Regions from separate parts of the Homo sapiens genome. Here region 2 is linked to region 1. The links are contacts of gene promoters, found by promoter capture Hi-C in human tissues and cell types (Jung and others, 2019). All regions are on one chromosome and are shown on one strand. The core of a region is centred on a gene start or on the middle of the fragment in contact, and the rest is flanking DNA. Distances in the headings are between cores, read along the strand shown.

Region 1 (6,558 bases), core at 2,537-5,036:
AGTGGGGCAGGAAGAATAAAAGTCATTTTCTCATTCATTTCTTAATTCTTTTATTCATTCATTCAGCAACTGTTCATTGAGAGCAGTTATGCCCATTTCCCTGATGAGGAAATAGAGCCTCAGAGAGGTAAAGTGACTTAGATACAAACCTTAGCCAATCTCTTGTCTTAAAAGCCCACCTTTTTCCACTCCCCACTCTTGCCTCCAAAAACAGTCTGGACAGGTTAGACACACCGCTGTGACTTTGAGGGTCAAGGGGAGGTACCCTGCCAAAAAACAAAAACCTAATTATCCTTGTTTAGTGAGAGGAGGCTGGCGTCCCCCACAGGGATGTTCCTTTGTCTGTTGGAACTCTTCCGCTGCCTTGAGGACCCACCTTTAGCCCCCTTTGGATCTTGAATGGGGGAGCCAGCCTGCCAGTGTCTGGGGTTAAGGGGAGGAGACCACTGAATTCATTGTCTGGGCCAGGGAGGACCTACCATTGGAAAGGGAATGGGACCAGAATTCCAGACCAGGCTTTGATACCAATTATTCAGGAGACCTGGGTCAGTCCTTACCTCTCTGTGGTCCTCAGTTTTCTGGTCCCTGAAACAAGAAATCTGGGCTGGCTGTATCCTGAACTATAGGACTTCTGGCCTCAGATGCCTCCAGATTGATATGGGCTGGAAGTAGGGTGACACATTTGTTCTGATTTGCTCGTTCTGATTTACTTTCCAGGTTTTAGCATCAAGAGAAACCTTCTCAGTTCCTGATAAATTGGGATGGTTGGTCACCCTAGCTGGAGGACTGTTAGGTTAACCTAACCTCACATTTTACCCACAAAGAGCAAGACACGCAGCACCCGCCTTTATTCCTATGTGGCCACGAAGCTATTTTCAAGCCATTTTGTTTGCACATATCATGTTTCTAGGGTTCAGCTGAAAACCCTCTCAGGTCCAGCTACCACTTCCCTCAATTCCTTCAGATCTTCTGGGCTCTGCTTGGCCATCTCCTTTTCCCCCCTCTGCACCCACTCCCATGCCTCAGGATGGTCTTTTTTGGTTGTCTCCATCAGCTCCCCTGGAGCCCCTTTAGCTCCTTCCTCTGCATTTAATGCAGGATTTGTGCCGAAGCAGGTGCTCCACAAGTCATCACGGAAAGTCTGAATATCTCCAGGGCCCAGGGCAGGGCTGCCCCCACCCTCAAGGAGGGCTGCACACCCCAATTCCAGGGCAACTTTGTTGGAAGGACAGATCCTTCCTGGAAGAGGTTGCAGGGAGCCACTCCCCAGGTGTGACTTCTTAACCCTTTCTCTTCCATGGGACCACTCAGGCATTGGGTGGAGCCTGTGGACCCCTTCTGAGAATAATTTTTTTAAAAAGGCATTAGGATTACTATGAAAAGTCATTTTACTAAAAATAGATATCAAACTATTAACAATTTCTCATATAGTAACATACGTTCTCTTTTACTAATACATTAAATAAGATTTAGTGGTCGGTCTAATATGACTTTAATTTCACAGTTCTCGTAGCTTAGATGATATCTTGAGATGTTTACAATAACTGTAGTGTGTTACATAAATACCTGTGATTTCTACTAGTGACAAAATCACAGGGACATCTACTTGCTGCCTACATTCATAATCAAAGGATATGTTAAAAACCATTGGCTGGGCACGGTGGCTTACGTCTGTAATCCCAGAACTTCGGGAGGTCAAGGTGGGCGGATCACCTGAGGTTGGGGGTTCAAGACCAGCCTGACCAACATAGAGAAACCCCCATCTCTACTAAGAATACAAAAAAATTAGCCGGGTGTGGTGGCGCATGCCTGTAATCCCAGCTACTTGGGAGGCTGAGGCAGGATAATCTCTTGAACCCCGGAGGTGGAGGTTGTGATGAGCCAAGATCGCACCATTGCACTCTAGCCTGGGCAACAAGAGTGAAACTCTGTTTCAAACAAACAAATAAACAAACAGACAACAAAGCCTTTAGAGATTAGTGAGGCTAAAGGTATAACTTTTGTCCACCCCTGTGTCATGGACCCCCCAGAATTCTATCCTCAGTCCTCTTGGGGGTCCATGAACCTCTGCTTCAAGGCAAAGGGGTTTTGATTCCTTAGGTTAGATAAACAAGAACATCATCAAGAGACGAGAGAACGAAGAGTAAAGGGCAGTGTCCAGACTGGGTTGGGTTAAGCAGAGAAAGGTTTCTAGATGAGTGAGTTTCAGAGCTGGGTGTTTAAGGTGAGTCCGTGTTGGCAGGAAGCAAGGAACTGTGGTTGAGGGAAGGAACTATGGGGAAGGTTTGCTTTTGTGGCTAAATCAAAAACACAGCAGACTAACATCACAGCCACATCACTCCAGGGCAAGCCCGTGTCTCCTTTGTCACCAAGAACACCAAGGCATTGTCCATGTAAGACAGTGTGCCTGTCCTCAAGCTTACATACAAAGAGACAAAACAAACACAAAAGTTAATAACAAGACAAAAATTAAACTGCTAGTAAAAAATGCAGTCGGAAGTATCTGAAACATGCCACATATCTGGTTAAGTGCATACAATGCAAGCCACAGGCGTTCAAAGGTGGGGGTTCAAGGTGGGGGTCACCTCCCCTCTGAGGTTTGCGGTGAGGACCAAATGCGGAAATGGACACGAGGCCCGAGGCCAGCATTGTGGAAGGCCGGTTAGAGCATGCACTTTGGACCATTGTGGCTACTTAACGTCTCAGTGACCTTCTCTGTAAAATGGGGATAATAAATAAGTATGGCGCCTGACATATACTAATGTTTGCAACACGGTTCAGGAGACACCAGAGACTGGAGAACTTGGCCTTTAACGTGGTAGGTGTGAAAACATTTGAATGAATGAATGAATGAATGAATGGGTCCTCGGGTTGCCTCGGTCTGCCCCAGGCGGCCCGCTAAGCCCCATGTCTGTGAAATGAATCCCCAGCTCTCGGGGTCAGCTTCATCTCAGCGTGTGGGTGTGGGTGGTGGGGAGGTGCTGAGCAGCTCAGCAGAGGCGAGGCCCAGGCCGAGTTTGTGGGTGTCATCCCGGGAGGGTCTTGCTCGGCCTCCCCAACCCCCATGCTGCTCGGCTCCTCAGTGGGCGGGGGAACCAGCGGGCTTAGCTGTGCCCGGGCCGATCTCGAGAGGACAAGGCCCGCAGCTAGCATTCGAGGAGCCCACCCCCGGGTCCGCAGCGTGGGGCACGGGCGCCCTCTTATCCCCGAAAGGTCGATCTGGGCCTCCCCAGGCTAGAGTGGGGGTGGGGTGCCGATGCACCTTCGGATACTGTGGTCCCCCAGCCCTTCCAGCCGCGGTCGCGCACATCCGAAGGAATTTGGGGCCAGGGGCATTGCGGGCAGAGAGGACAGAGAAACGGAGCCCTCTCGGCAGGCGACGTGGGAGAGGAGCGCCCTAAAAAGTGGAAAGCGAGCGTTGCCGAGGCTGCTGGCCCCTTTAAGAGGCCCGGCTGGCTCTGCGGCGGTTCCAGCTAACCCGGTCCCTGGTGCAGCTCTGCGGTCCGGGTCCCCCAGCAGAGAATCGGCACCCGGCGGGGAGGCAGGACCAGACGCAGGAGAGGGCGTGGCCCCGCCGGGGAGCTGGGCGGAGTCTATGCTGCGGAGAAAGCGGGAGAACCCGGAGGTGGGCGGAGCCGAGGGTCTGTGGGTGGGGCCCGGCGCTGCGGGCCTCGTGGGGCGGAGCCTCGGGCTCGGGGAACGCCGCAGAGGGAGGAGGGGTGGGCGGGGCCGCGGCGGGGGCGGGGCCAGTGTCTGCAGTGGGCGGGGCCCGCCGCAGAAGGGGCAGTGCCGGCCGAGAGTCCTCTGCGTGCGGCTGCCGCGGCCCCTCCACAGCGTCTCTGACAGCCCGGGCGGTGAGACCCGCGACCCTTCTGGCCCCGCGCAGATACCGCGGCCTCCACCGCGTCCCGAGGAGCGGCCGAGTGCCCTCTCTCGCCTCGGCGCCCGCATCCGGGGCCATCCGTCCTGCCGTCTCTGCGGAGGCCGCATCTGGCGCGCATCTGGAACCGCCCGGCCGGCCGCGCTGGAGCCCGCGCCCACCCTGGCCCGGCCGCGCCGGGAGCCCTGCCCGGAGCTGGAGCCGCACCTGGAGCCGCGGGCCCGGGGCCCTGAGCCGCGCAGCCGGCGCATGGTGAACTCGCTGCTGTTCGGGGAGATGGCCTTGGCCTTCGGCTGCCCGCCGGGCGGCGGCGGCGGGGGCTGCCCTGGCGGGGGCGGCGGCGGCGGCGGGGCAGGGCCGGGTCCGTCGCCGGTGACGGCGGCGCTGCGGGACGACCTGGGCTCCAACATCCACCTCTTGAAGGGGCTCAACGTGCGCTTCCGCTGCTTCCTGGCTAAGGTGCACGAGCTGGAGCGGCGCAACCGGCTGCTGGAGAAGCAGCTGGAGCAGCAGCAGAGCGAGCGCGAGCGGCGGCTGCGCTACAAGACCTTCTCCCGCGAGCAGGCCGTGCAGACCGGGCCCGAGTTGCTGCGGCCCCCGGCGCCCGGCGGCGGGCACGGCCTCAGCAGTGGCGCGGCGGCCGGCGCCAACGCCAATGCCGTGGCCCTGGGCGGCCTGCCCCCCGGCGGCGGCTCGCACCCGCAGCACTACGGCCGCCTGCCCGGGACCATCTGGAGCTACACGCAGGTGCGGCGCACGGGCGGCGGCGGCGTGGAGACCGTGCAGGGCCCCGGCGTGTCGTGGGTGCACCCCGACGGCGTGGGCGTGCAGATCGACACCATCACGCCGGAGATCCGCGCGCTCTACAACGTGCTGGCCAAGGTGAAGCGCGAGCGCGACGAGTATAAGCGGAGGTGAGTGGCCGCCCCTCCCCCGCCGCCCTGGGACGGGGCGCCCAGGTCCAGGCTGCCGCGGAATGCGTATGCGGGACGGGGGCCGGGCGGGCAGCTGGTACTGGCAGGTGGGCTGGAAGCTGTGTTTGCAGAGCGTCTTACGTACGCCAGGAAGGCCCAGTTATCTAGATCCCAGGATGGGGGCGGGCGCTGGCTACCGTGGGGGCCACCTCGATGCTGTCACTGGTGAGGCACATTGTTTTCTAGGTGACATAATAACTGTCTGTGTTTTATGCGATCTCATTTAATTCTCAGCACAATACAGCGTATTGTGTAAGGCAGTCTTATCCTCATCTCGCAGATGAGGAAACCGAGGTGCAGAAATGCTAAGTGATTTGCCTAAGGTGGCTTGGCGAGTAAGTGGTGAAACCGGGATTTCAACCAGAGATTTTAACCACTCCTGGCTAGTCTGTCTCCTAGCATAAGTATTTTTACCAAGGAAGTAGGAAATATGCTCCCCTCCCTCAACATATGAAAAGAAAAACTCTAACCAACCCACTGCCTTTTTATTTCTTGAATTAAATGAGATCACGTTTTTGAAAATGGATGGATCTGCCCCTACCCCCTGGGGCCAGTGTCTGCCGTCTTGCTCCAGCTCTGTAAGGTCCAGCTTGCTGGGTTGGATAACCACAACTACAACAGACTGCTCACAAGCTTTTATAAAATGCCTCCTTTCATCCCTCTTCTCCCCACTCCCTGAGTCTCATGGTTTATTGAGCCCTAACAAACTCAGCCTTAAAAGCCCCCAGGAGAAGATAATGTTGGGCTGGAGACTGGACATTGAATGGACTGAGACCACAATCTCTGGCTAGAACTGGGGTCCAGACTCTGCAAGACTGGCCAGTGCATTCCTGCCTAGCCCAGATTCCCCAGCTGGGAAACTGTCATTGCTTCCTGTCTGCAGTCTGGCCGACAATACTGTCTGCTTGGCTTTCCGATAAGAGGAGAGGGGTCTCCTATCCTCCTCCTCTTCCCATAAGAGAAGAAGGGTCTGTCTTTGGCATCTCAGGCCTGGCTGGGGAAGGGGCCCTCTGGCCCTGGCAATCGCTGTTCCAGGCACAGGCAGCCTTCCATTCGGAGCTATTGGCTCTGAACTCCAGGGCTTGGAGGATGTACTGAGAAGGACCCTTCCTTCCATCTCTAAAGGTCTGTCCAGGGAGCTGGGCATAGGTCTCCTTCCGTATTCTCCCATTGGACAGGCTAGCAACTGGGTAGGATTCAAATGCCAGCCTTATACCTGCTGGTGAGATTATCAAATCACTTGAAAGCCTGTTTGCTCATCAGAGAAATGGGAATAATAAAATCTGCCCACAGTTGCTCGAGGAGACAGCAGGATGGTGATGCTCTTTGGGAGGTATAAAGTAATCATGCTGGTGTTATTAAAGATGATAGGCACTTTGTCAAGCTAGCAGGGAGTAGAAATGCTGAGAGTCCTCAAGCTCTCTCATGTGGCGCCTAGCTTCCTGGGGGTAGGTCTTACACTCCACTGGGAGACGGGCTTCTCTCCTGGGTTACCTGTTTCTCTGGAGGACTTGAGAATGGCCCGCCTGGTGCCTTGCCACAGGGAGGCCACCTCGCCGCCCCTCATGGTCAATGTCATTGGGGCAGGCTAGGGAAGCAGGCACTTGCTCTCAATGGTGAAACTGGGGAGGGATGGGCCGGGCCCTCCTGTCTGCCACTGTTGATTGTGTTGTCATGCCTCAGGCTTGTGTTGTGTTTGTTTTA
Region 2 (7,176 bases), core at 550-3,049, 320 kb before region 1:
CTCCACCTCCTGGGTTCAAGTGATTCTCCTGCCACAGCTTCCTGAGTAGCTGGGATTACAGGTGTGAGCCACCCACCTGGTTAATTTTTGTATTTTTGTAGAGACTGGGTTTTGCCATGTTGTCCAGGCTGGTCTTGAACTCCTGACCTCAGTTGATGTGCCCCACTTGGTGCCTCGAATGCTGGGATTACAGGCATGAGCCACCACACCCAGCCAGCTTTTTTTTGAGAACACAGAAGTTGGAAAACTGGTTCTAAAATTCATAGCAAATTCAGGGCACCCAGGATACCCAAAACATGCTTGAAAAAGAACACAGTTGGAGGACTCCCACTTTCTGATTTCAGAACTTACTACAAAACTACATAGCCGGGCGTGGTGGTAGGCGCCTGTAATCCCAGCTACTCGGGAGGCTGAGGCAGGGAGAATTGCTTGAATCTGGGAGATGAAGGTTGCAGTGAGCCGAGATCAGGCCACTGCACTCCAGCCTGGGTGACAGAGTGAGATTCCATTCTCCGAACAAAACAAAACAAAAAACAAACAGAAAAAACAACTACAATGCTAAAGACAGTGTGGTCCTAGCATAAGGCTAGACATAAATCAATGGACTAGAATTTAGAGTCCAGCAGTAAACCCTTTCATGGTATTGTCAATTAATTTTAAAGAGCGTCAAGACAATTCAACAAGGAAAATAACCATCTTTAGGCCGGGCGCGGTGGCTCATACCTGTAATCCCAGCACTTTGGGAGGCCGAGGCAGGCGGATCATGAGGTCAGGAGATCGCGACCATCCTGGCTAACACAGTGAAACCCCGTCTCTACTGAAAATACAAAAAATTAGCTGGGCGTGGTGGCGGGTGCCTGTAGTCCCAGCTACTCGGGAGGCTGAGGCGGGAGAATGGTGTGAACCCAGGAGGTGGAGCTTGCAGTGAGCCAAGATCACGCCACTGCACTCCAGCCTGGGCGACAGAGCAAGACTCTGTCTCAAAAAAGAAAAGAAAAGAAAAGAAACGAAAAGAACCATCTTCAACAACATCTGGATATTTGCAAGTAAGAGAATGAAGTTGGACCCCTTCCTCATACCATACATAAGAAAATAAACACAAAGTGAGTCATAGACCTAAATGTATAGGCTAAAAGTATAAAAACTTTTAGAAGAAAATACAGGGCCAGGATGGTGGCACACTCCTGTAATCCCACCTACTGTGGTGGCTGAGGCACCGGAATCACTTGAACCCAGGAGGCAGAGGTTGCAGCGAGCCAAAATTGTGCCACTCCACTCCAGCCCGGGTGACAGAGCAAGACTCTGTCTGTCTCAAAGAAAGAAAAAGAAAATATAGAGATAAGTCTTGTGGCCTTGGATTGGGGAATTGTTCCTCAGAAGCACAAACAACAAAAGAAAAATTAAATTGGACATCATCAAAGTTTAGAACTCTTTTACTTTAAAGACTCCATAAAGAAAGTGAAATGACAACCCACAGAATGGGAGAAAATACTTGCAAATCATTTACCCGATGATGTTCTGTCTAGACCAGGGGTGTCCAATCTTTTGGTTTCCCTGGGCCACACTGGAAGAAGAAGAATTGTCTTGGGCCGCACATAAAATACACTCACACTAACGATGGCTGATGAACTTAAAAAAAAAAATCACAAGAAAATCTCATAATGTTTTGGGAAAGTTTATGAATTTGTGTCGGGCCACACATTCAAAGCCATCTTTGGGCTGCATGCGGCCTGCGGGTCGTGGGTTGGACAAGCTTGAATTATATAAAGAACTCTTATCATTCAACAATAACAATATCAATAATGCAATTGAAAAATGAACAAAGGATCCAAATAGAACTTTCTCTAGCAAAGATATACAGATGGTCAGTAGACAGATGAGAAAGCGCTCAACATCATTACCCATGAGGGAAATAAAAATAAAAACCACAATGTGTTTCCACTACTTCACACCCACTAGGATGGGAGTAGTAAGACAGACAGACGATAGAAGTGCCGTAGAGAAACTGGAATCTTCATATGCTGATGGTGGGAATGTAAAATGGTACAACCACTTTGGAAAATAGTTTGGCAGTTCCTCAGAGGATTAAACATAAAATTACCATAGGATTCAGCAGTTCCACTTGTGGGTATATAGCCAAGAGAAGTGAAAACATATCTCCCCACAAAAAACTTGGGCATGAGTTTTCACAATATCATTACTCATAATAGCCAATAAGTAAAAACAACCCAAATGTCCATCAATGAATGAAAGGATAAACAAAATGTGGTATATTCATACAACAGACTATTATTCGGCTGTTAAAAAAAATAATAAAAAAGTAGCTCACGCCTGTAATCTCAGTACTTTGGGAGGCCAAGGCAGGAGGATTAATTGAAGACAGGAGTTCCAGACCAGTCTGGACATAGAAGTGAGACCTTGTCTCTAGTAAACATAAAAAGAAAATTAGCTGGGTTCTGTGGCACACACCTGTAGTCCCAGCTACTCAGGAAGCCGAGGTGGGAGGATTGCTTGAGCCCAGGTATTCAAGGCTGGAGTGAGCTATGATTATGCATCACTGCACTGCAGCCTGGGTGACAGAGCAAACCATGTTTCTAAATACATAAATAAGTAAATAAAATGAAGTAATGAAACACCTACAAGGTAAATGCACCTTGAAGACTTGTAAAATTAAAGACGCCAATTGCAAAAGGTTTCATATTGCATGATTTGATCTGTATGAAATGTCCAGAATAGGCAAATCTGTTTGAGAGAGAGAAAGTAGATGAGTGCTTGCCTAGGACCGGGAGGAGGTTTGCGAGGAAATAGAGATTCACTGCTAATAAGTACAGGGTTTCTTTTGGGTGCACTTATGAGGATGCTCTGAAATTGATTGTGATGGTTGTACACCTCTGAATACATGAAACAGCATTAAATCATCACTTTAAGTCAACTGTATAGTGTCTGAATTATGTCTCAATACAGTAGTTTTTTTGTTTTTGTTTTTGTTTTTGTTGTTTTTTTCTTTTTTGAGATGGAGTCTCACTCTGTGGCCCAGGCTGGAGTGCAGTGGCGCGATCTTGGCTCATTGCAACCTCCGCCTCCTGGGTTCAACCAATTATCTTGCCTCAGCCTCCCAAGTAGGTGGGACTACAGGCGTGTGCCACCACATCTGGCTAATTTTTTATGTATTTTTTAGTAGAGATGCGGTTTCATCATGTTAGCCAGATGGTCTCAATCCCCTGACCTCATGATCTGTCTGCCCTTGGCCTCCCAAAGTGCTGGGATTACAGGTGTGAGCCACTGCGCCTGGCCAATACAGTTGTTTTTAAAAAACAAAACAGGCCGGTCATGGTGGTTCATTCATGCCTGAAATGCCAGAACTTTGGGAGGCCCAGGCAAGGGGAATCTCTTGAACCCAGGAGTTTGAGACCCCTTCCCCATACCACACACAAAAAAACTAACTCAAATGAATCACCCACCTAAATGTATAAGGTAAAACTGTAAAACTCTTAGAAGAAAATACTGGAGTAAGTATGACTTTGGATTAGGCAGTGGTTTCTTAGATATTGACACCAAAAGCACACGTGGCAAAAGAAAAAGTAAAATCAACACCATCAAAGTTTAGAATGTTCGTGCTTCAGAGAACTATCAAGAAAGTGAAAAGACAAGCCACAGAATGGGATAGTATTTTGCAAATCACATATCTGTAAAGAAACTTGTAGCTGCAATAGATACAGGACTCTTACAACTTAATTAAAGAAAAGACCCACCTAGGTGCAGTGGCTCATGCCTGTAATCCCAGCACTTTGGGAGGCTGAGGTGGGAGGATCCCTTGAGGCCAGGAGTTCGAGACCAGCCTGGCCAACATGGCGAGACGCTGTCTCTACTAAAAATACAAATATTAGCCAGGTGTGGTGGCACATGCCTGTAATTCCAGCTATTCGAGAGCTGAGGCACGAGAATTGCTTGAACCTGGGACACCGAGATTGCAGTGAGCCGAGATCGCACCACTGCACTCCAGCCTGTACAACAGAGCGAGACTTTGTCTCAAAAAAAAAAAGTAAATGCTTACATTATTGATTTGAGATATTTCTTCTTTTATAGTATGTCAAAGTGGTGCTATAAATTTCCCTCTTAGCACTACTGTGGCTGCATCTCAGAAAATTTGACATGTCATGTTTTTACTTTAATTCAGTTCAAATTATGATCTAATTTTCCTTGAGATTACATCTTTGATCCATGGGTTATTTAATTTCCAAATACGTGGGGATTTTCCAGACATCACTCCGTTATTATTTTCTATTTTTCCTTTTTCTTCTATTTATTTATTTACCTATTTACTTATTTTCAGTTCCCTCTCAGGCTCTAAGTTCTGTTATTATTTTCTAGTTTAATTCCATTGTGTTCAGAGATGTACTTTGTATTATTTAAATCCTTTCAAATTTATTTGTTTATTTTTTTCTTTTCTTTTTTTTGAGACGGAGTCTCACTCTGTTGCCCAGGCTGTAGTGCAGTGGTGCAACCTCGGCTCACTGCAGCCTCCACCTGCTGGGGTCAAGGGATTCTCCTGCCTCAGCCTCCTGAGTAACTGGGATTATAGGCATGAGCCACCACGCCCGGCTAATTTTTGTACTTTTAGTAGAGATGGGGTTTCACCATGTTGGCCAGGCTGATCTAGAGAACCCCTAACCTCAGGTGATCTGCCTGCCTCAACCTCCAAAAGTGTTTGGATTACAGGAGTGAGCCACCACACCTGGCCTGTTAATTTATTTTTGTTATTTTTTTTTAAGACGGAATCTCACTCTGTTGTCCAGGCTGGAATGCAGTGGCATGATCTCAGCTCACTGCAACCTCTGTCTCCCAGGTTGAAGTGATTATCCTGCCTCAGCCTCTCGAGTAGCTGAGATTACAGGTGCATGCCAACATGCCTGTCTAATTTTTATATTTTTAGTAGAGACGGGTTCTTACCATGTTGACCAGGCTGATCTGGAACGCCTGACCTCAAGTGATCTGCCTGCCTCAGCATCTCAAAGTGCTGGGATTACAGACATGAGCCACCATGCCCGGCCTCTTTTGCATTTATTAAGACTTGTTTTATGCCTCAAAATATAGTATATCTTGGTGGATGTGCACTTGGATGCATATTCTGCTGTTGTTGGATATTCCATTCATGTTGTTTATATGGACTTGGTTAATAGCATTGTTCAAGTCTTTTTTTTTTTTTTTTTGAGATGGAGTCTTGCTCTGTCACCTAGTCTGGACTGCAGTGGCGCAATCTCGGCTCACTGCAACCTCTGCCTCCTGGGTTCAAGCAATTCTTTGCTTCAGCCTCCCGAGTAGCTGGGATTACAGGTGCCCGCCACCACGCCTGGCTAATTTTTTGCATTTTTAGTAGAGACGGGGTTTCACCATCTTGGCCAGGCTGATCTTGAACTCCTGACCTCGTGATCCACCCGCCTCAGCCTCCCAAAGTGCTGGGATTACAGGCGTGAGCCACGGCGCCTGGGCTGTTCAAGTCTTCTATACCTTTACCGAGTTTCTGTAAATTATGACTGACAACTGTTCTACAACTGTTGAGAGTGGTGTGTTGAAACCTCCAACTATAATTTTGTATTTGTCTATTTCTTCTTAAGTTCTATTATTGTTTTTCATGTATTTGATGCTCTATTTTTATTTGCATATACATTGACGATTATATTTTCTTTGTTAATTGACCTCTGTCATTATGATAGGTCCCTCTTTGTCTTTGGTAGTTTTTCTTGTTGTTGTTTTTGTTGTTGATTTGAGACAGGGTCTCAATCTGCTGCCCAGGTTGGAGTGTAGTGGTATGATCACAGCTCACTGCAGCCTTGACCTCCTAGGCTCAGGTGATCCTCCCACCTCAACCTCCTGAGTAACTGGGACCACAGGCACATGCTACCACATTTTGATAATCTTTTTAAAACTTTTTGTAGAGATAACATCTCTCTGTGTTGCCCAGGCTGGTCTCAAACTCCTGGGCTCAATCCTCCCTTTTCAGCCTCCCAAAGTGCTGAGATTACAGGTGTCAACCACTATACGGGCCAGTATTTTTTGTTTTGAAACCTACTTTGTCTGATATTGATGTAGCCATTCCAACTTTTTAAAATTTAGTTTTGTCAAGGTATGTCTTTTCCCACCTTTTTACTTTTTTTTTTTGAGATGGAATTTCGCTCTTGTTGCCTCGGCTGGAGTGCAATGGTGCGATCTTGGCTCACTGCAACCTCCGCCTCCAAGGTTCCAGCGATTCTCCTGCCTCAGCCTCCCAAGTAGCTGGGATTACGGGCATGTGCCACCCCACCTGGCTAATTTTGTATTTTTAGTAGAGATGGGGTTTCTCCATGTTAGTCAGGCTTGGTCTCCAACTCTTGACCTCAGGTGATCCACCCCCCTCGGCCTCCCAAAGTGCTGGGATTACAGGCATGAACCACTCCGCCTGGCGCATCTTTTTACTTTTAACTTATCTCTGTTTATATATTTCAATAGCTTTCTAATATTTACTATATACTTGTGTTTTGCTTTTTTATCCATTCTAACAATCTCTGCCTTTTACTTGTAAGCATTTTTTCATTTATATTTAATGTAATTATTGATATGGTTGGGTTTAAATTAATCTTGCTATTGGTTTTTCATTTGTTCCATCTGTCTATTGGTCTTTTTTTTTTTTTTTTGTATTTAGAGACAGATTTGCCCTCTGTCACCCAGGGCGGAGTGCAGTGGAGCTATCACAGCACACTGCAGCTGGGCGTTGGTCCATTTTTCTATCTTCTTCTTCTTTTTTTTTTTCTTTTGAGACAGGGCCTCCCTATGTTGCCCAGGCTGGATTCAAACTCCTGGGCTCAGGCGATCGTCCTGCCTTGATCTCCCAAAGTGTTGGGATTACAGGCGTAAACCACCACAGTCAGTCAGTTTGTTTGTTTGTTTCACTTAGGTACAGAATTCAATGCCAACAGTTCTTTTCTTTCAAGACTTTAACCATGTCACTCCACGGGGACGCTGTTTTGAGCCTTTGGTAAGCCTCATCCTCCAGGACCACACGGCAGGCAGGCAGGACAGCCCTTACTTAGGTCCACCACACCCGTTAAGCTCCCTCCTGGAGGAGACAGAGACCTGGGACAGCTCCGGGGCGGGCGAGGCCGAGGGATGGGGGACGACGGGGCAGGGAGGAGTCCCAGA

The links. Contacts are between HindIII fragments. The study calls those that stand out against the background at their distance.
Region 2: a contact is called between a fragment that was not itself captured here and the fragment with the promoter of IFFO2 in region 1, in 1 of the 25 tissues and cell types used here (bladder).

The regions. Positions count from the first base shown.
Region 1 is chr1:18,953,904-18,960,461 of GRCh38, reverse strand. It overlaps IFFO2 (intermediate filament family orphan 2), which reads left to right and starts at 3,786. Exons shown (of 9, transcript NM_001136265.2): 1 at 3,786-4,794. The coding sequence starts at 4,130. RefSeq lists silencers at 3,604-3,773, 4,344-4,603, 4,844-5,033. The HindIII fragment of the contact is 10,098 bases long and covers 235-6,558 here.
Region 2 is chr1:19,274,395-19,281,570 of GRCh38, reverse strand. It overlaps a transcript of AKR7A3 not described here. Among named protein-coding and RNA genes, the nearest start is that of AKR7A3, 11 kb to the left of the region's middle. The HindIII fragment of the contact is 8,144 bases long and covers 1-5,871 here.